Regions from separate parts of the Homo sapiens genome. Here region 1 is linked to region 2. Evidence: promoter capture Hi-C in human tissues and cell types (Jung and others, 2019). All regions are on one chromosome and are shown on one strand. The core of a region is centred on a gene start or on the middle of the fragment in contact, and the rest is flanking DNA. Distances in the headings are between cores, read along the strand shown.

The links. Contacts are between HindIII fragments. The study calls those that stand out against the background at their distance.
Region 1: a fragment that was not itself captured here is called in contact with the fragment with the promoter of CCDC27 in region 2 in 2 of the 25 tissues and cell types used here (H1 embryonic stem cells and mesenchymal stem cells).

Annotation. Positions count from the first base shown.
Region 1 is chr1:3,645,602-3,648,301 of GRCh38, reverse strand. WRAP73 (WD repeat containing, antisense to TP73) reads left to right here. Exons shown (of 12, transcript NM_017818.4): 2 at 742-894; 3 at 1,520-1,636. Among named protein-coding and RNA genes, the nearest start is that of WRAP73, 3.2 kb to the left of the region's middle. The HindIII fragment of the contact is 3,229 bases long and covers 1-2,700 here.
Region 2 is chr1:3,751,136-3,753,835 of GRCh38, reverse strand. CCDC27 (coiled-coil domain containing 27) reads right to left here and starts at 1,386. Exons shown (of 12, transcript NM_152492.3): 1 at 1,037-1,386. The coding sequence starts at 1,354. The HindIII fragment of the contact is 11,219 bases long and covers 1-2,700 here.

The DNA.
Region 1 (2,700 bases), core at 151-2,650, 110 kb after region 2:
ACTGTAGTAAAATATACATTCAGCAGGTGAGTACTCAGGCGTTATTTTTACTTGAAATTGTTTGCTTGGATAGGGACATAATGAACAAATATGGACAAGAAGAAACTATCTTTAAGAAAATAGTACTAACACTTAAACATTTCCCGTTTCGTGTTAGGAATAGGTTAATGGAGATAAATGAGCATTTGCGAAGCATCTTTATGTGTGCAGAAGTGAAAGCCTGTCTTTTGATCTTCTGTTGTTTTGGCTCTGAGTTCGGCACTGCATAAGAAGATTGATGCATTCCTTGCCATTTTCGTTGTCATCTGTGAAGCCTCAATTCTTACCCTTTATAAATTTGAGGAAATTGTCCAAAAGTGTTTATAAAACTAGCAGAGGATTTTGGTTATTAGTTCACAGAAGAGCTTTCTCCCAATGCTACTTCCCATTTAAGTTTAGTTTTTAACATACAGATAAGAAGGGACTTAAAAATGTCTTAAAGCTTTAAGTAGCGAGTTAAAACATACTTTTATACTTTACAATAGAGTATAGCAATATTAAAACCTGGCTTGTATATTTCAACATTACCCTTGTATGAACTGAACTGATCTTTAGGGGCTGGGGATGTCACTGGTGATCTAGACATGAAACCTCTGGCAGGAGAGAAGGCCACAGTCACTGAAGGCCAGGGCAGTAGCATTCCGAAGGCCCCCCTCTTTTGGAGTGGAGAATGTCAGGTGCTTGCTTTCTCATATTTTTTAGGCTTCCTGTGTCCAGTACCGGTTAGTGGTCCGGGATGTGAACACCCTTCAGATCCTTCAGCTGTACACGTGCCTAGACCAGATCCAGCACATCGAGTGGTCGGCAGACTCGCTCTTCATCCTGTGCGCCATGTACAAGCGAGGGCTGGTGCAGGTGTGTGCTGCCGTGTCGCTTAGAATCTGGACACCTTCTGAGGGCCCCTGGGAAGGAGGGGTTTTGTTCTGTGCCTTTCTAGTTTGAAAAAAAAGTCCGTGCAGCTCAAAGCCAGTTTTCTTTTGAAATTATAACGTTCTCTAAAGTTTAAGAACATTTAAACTAAGGAAACTCCAACGTAGTCTTAATTTCTAAGCAATATAGTTGAGAAACGGAGGTGTTGACAGCAATCTAGCCACGCGGATGTGGTGTGTTTCAGGAAGTCCTAAGAAGTCGTGTTTTCTTCTGTGTCCAAAGCTTAACTAAATGAGGTCTTAGGAATGACAATGTGAATAAACAGTTTTAAAACAACAACGAAATGAAATCACCAAGAAGCGTGGCTTACTTTTACACTGGAATCCAGCACCAGCCCTTCATCATGAAAGGTTCTAAAAGACACCCTGTGTGATCGGGTCTCTGCTGGTTTTAAGGGAGTTGTCTCTCGGCGAGGCCTCGCTATAGACTGCTGATGAGTTTGAAGACACCCTGTGCGGTCGGGTCTCCGCTGCGTTTAAGCGAGCTGTCCTCGCTGTCTCTCGGTGCTGATGAGTTTGCACTTGTGTGTTTCTTTCTTCTCTCAATCCAGGTCTGGTCTTTAGAGCAGCCCGAATGGCACTGCAAAATAGACGAGGGCTCAGCCGGGCTGGTGGCCTCGTGCTGGAGCCCGGACGGGCGCCACATTCTCAACACCACGGAATTCCATGTAAGTGTCAGCCCCAAGACACCTTACTGGCCATGTGATCCTGTCCTCTGCTCTCGAAACAGCTGGGGAGTGCGAGAGGGGGTGTGTTTGGAGTATGCTAGTCTCCCCTTATCCTCAGGGGATGCATTCTAAGACCACCAGGGGATTCAGATTGTACCAAACCCTGTATTTCCTGTGTTTTTTCCTATACAGCATACCTGTGATACATTTAATTTATAAATTAGATACAGTAAGAGATTAGCAACAATCATAGTATAGAACAAGGATAACAATATACTGTTTATAATTGCATGGATAGAAGATTTGGTCTTACTGAAGATCTGAGCAACAACCTCAGCATAGGATTTTTTCTTTCCTTGTTGCGTCAAGAACTTTCAGCTCGTCATTTAAAGGAAGCACTTTGTGGCTTCTCTTTGGCGTATCCAGATTGCGAGCCCCACCGCCCGTGCTTTGGGCTGCTACTGAGTCAGATAAGGGTGTCGTGAACACAGGCACTGTCTGCTGCCCTGGGTCTGATGACTGAGGTGGCTCCCGAGTGGCTGGTAGATTGGCGGGGTTGGAGGGAGCCGGGGAGCGTATATAGTGGTGTGTATATTTTAGGTCAGAGCATTATAAGCCACTAAGTATTATTGTCTGATCTTTTGTCCAGTTTTGAAGAAAAAACATTTTAAAAATCTTAATTTAGATTTTTTAGGATTTCGGCACTCCCTTTAATTCAACGATAGAAAATGCGCTGTGATATGAGCCGGCTCGCACCTTTCCTTCAGGAGCCTGGCCTGGGGGCGTGGCTCGGGGCGGTCGGCAGCCGCCCATTCACCTGCTGTAGGTACCGCACAACAGCCTCCGTGCTGAGCTCAGCGCGGAGGGGAATGTTGACATCCGAGAATAAATCAGAGGGATCTGGGATAGGAGACTGCATTTTAAGTTAAAATTAGGCATATGTCAAGTGTTTAGATACCAGGTCTTTGGTGTCCGCAGTGTCTTTTTAAGATACAGAAAAATGGACGAATTCCTTTAATAATGTGCTTTTCTGATGGAGTTGGATCCCAGTGTTTGGGCCCAAG
Region 2 (2,700 bases), core at 137-2,636:
GACTGTCGGCTGAGATTCACAGACAGGCCCCCCGACCCCACCCACACATGCTGCTGGTCACAGGCACTAAGCCACTCTCCCACTGGGGTTGAAAGGGCCTGCGTGTGTGCAGGCTGCAGCAGTGTGTCCCCTCTGTCCCCTCTCCAGCACACTGGATGCTCAGCAAGAGCCACGCAGACCCACTTTGGAAACCATAGTCCAGCCGGGCATGGTGGCTCATGCCTGTAATCCCAGCACTTTGGGAGGCCAAGGCGGGCAGATCACATGAGGTTGGGAGTTTGAGACCAGCCTGACCAACATGGAGAAACCCCATCTCTATTAAAAATACAAACAAACAAACAAATAAAATTAGCCGGGCAAGGTGGCACATTGTAATCCCAGCTACTCTGGAGGCTGAGGCTGGAGAATCACTTGAACCCAGGAGGTGGAGGTTGCGGTGAGCCAAGATCGCGCCATTGCACTCCAGCCCGGGTGACAAGAGTGAAACTCCGTCTCAAAAAAAAAAAAAAAAAAAAGAAAAAGAAAAAAAGAAACCATAGTCCACTAGGTCCAGGCAATGCATTCACCCAGGAAGCTGCCAGGAGCCGGGGTGACCATCTCGGGCTCCCCCAGTACACGGTGGCACAGCGTACCTGACTGGCTGAGGTCCCCTTTCACATTTTCTCCCCTTCACTCTCCTTTTCAAGATGCACCTTGGGAGTCTTGGGGCAAACTGTACATCTTCTCCCCTTGGCCAACCAGAGACACCGGGAGCCAAGGTCTGCAAGAGGGGAGGACCAACCCAAAGCAGCTAACCCAGAAGAAGCCGGTGGCATGTGGGGACTAAGGCACCAGGCCCTTCAGAAAGGGAGAGGACCGCAGGGCTCTTTCCACCCCTAGCGCTCAATTCGTTGCCTGCCTGGAATCCCCCTTTGGTAACCCATCACCAGAAGGCCTGTGGAATGCTTTGTGGGCTGACAGCTCTATGGGCCTTTGGGGAGGAGAAGAAACAGGTCACCTCAAGGCTCGTGGCAGCCCTCCTCCCGGGACCCCATACCGTCTTCCTGTAGTAGCGGCTGATGGTCTGGACCGACTTGCTGAGCGTGCGTGGCTTTTGGTGCGGTTTCCATTCTGGGCACCGGGCGTCCCGGCTGGCCATGCTCTGGAGGAGCACCAGGGCCCTGGCCATCGAGCTGGACATCGAACTGTGCCTCTGAGATGGGCTGGCCTCCTTAGGTAACATGAGGCGTGGGATGCAAAGACCAAGTGAGCTTTGTTGCCTGAATGTGGACCTGAATGAGGACAGGCCCGGCTTTTCCCGTGGATCTCTCTTCAGCCTGGCTTGGGGTGTGGAGGGGAAGATGGCCTCGAACATGAACCTGCTGGCTGGTGCAGTGGGAGGAGATCAGCTTCCAGAGCTCCAGGTCCTGTGGGCTCCTGGGAGCAGTGGTGGCATCACAGATGTCTCCATAGAAACCGTTATTGAGCAAAAGGGGCCCGCGGCTGGATGCGCTGGAGGCCAGTGCTGTGACACCAGGTTTTTGAGAAGAGCAAAGCTCAATATTGAAGGTTGCCTTCTGGGCTGGGTGTGGTGGCTCACACCTGTAATCCCAGCACTTTGGGATGCCCAGGTGGGAGGCATGCTTGAGCCCAGGAGTTAAACATTTTAATTAGCCAGGCATGGTGGCGTGCACCTGTAGTCCCAGCTCCTCAGGAGGCTGAGATGAGAGGATCACCTGAGCCTGGGGAGGTCGAGGTTGCAGTGAGCTGTGTTCACGTCACTGCACTCCAGCCTGGACTACAGAGTGAGACCCTATCTCCAAAAGAAAAAAGAAAAAAAGAAAAAAAAAAAGAAAGAAAAGAAAAAAAGAAAAGTCAGCTCCCAAGGACACAGGAGTCCAGCTCAAATGTCTCCATGTGCTGGCTTGAAGACAGTAATTGTATTAGAAAAGGTTAGGCTGGGTGCGGTGGCTCATGCCTGTAATCCCAGCACTTTGGGAGGCCGAGGTGGGCGGATCACGAGGTCAGGAGATCGAGACCATCCTGGCTAACACAGTGAAATCCCGTCTCTACTAAAAGTACAAAAAATGAGCCGGGCGTGGTGGCGGGCGCCTGTAGTCCCAGCTACTTGGGAGGCTGAGGCAGGAGAATGGCGTGAACCCAGGAGGCGGAGCTTGCAGTGAGCAGAGATCGCACCAGAGCACTCCAGCCTGGGCAACAGAGTGAGACTCCATCTCAAAAAAAAAAGGTTTAGGGGGTGGGCTCTGGGATTAGAAACATTTGGCCAAGAAATACCTAGAAGAGTAGATAAGAGTAGCCTGACTCCCTGGGAATGATTTTCCAGGCTTCAAATGCCTACCTCAAGACATCTTTTAAGGAGAGAAAGACAAAACCCCTACCTTCAGAAGCCTTGATTAGGGTCTGAATGGGAAGAAAGGCTTCTCTGCTTGCTGACTGAAGGAAATTTGAAGGGGGCCTGCCCCATCCACACCTGTGGGTATTTCTCTTCAGGTGGAGATGAGAGACTGAGAAAAGAAACAAGACGCAGAGACAAAGTATAGAGAAAGAACAGTCAGCCCAGGGGACCGGCACACTCAGCATGCAAGGACCTGCATCGGCGCTGGTCTCTGAGTTCCCTCAGTATTTATGGATCACTGTTTTTACTACCTTGGTGAGGGGAGTGTGGCAGGGCAACAGGGTGATGGTGGGGAGAAGGTCAGA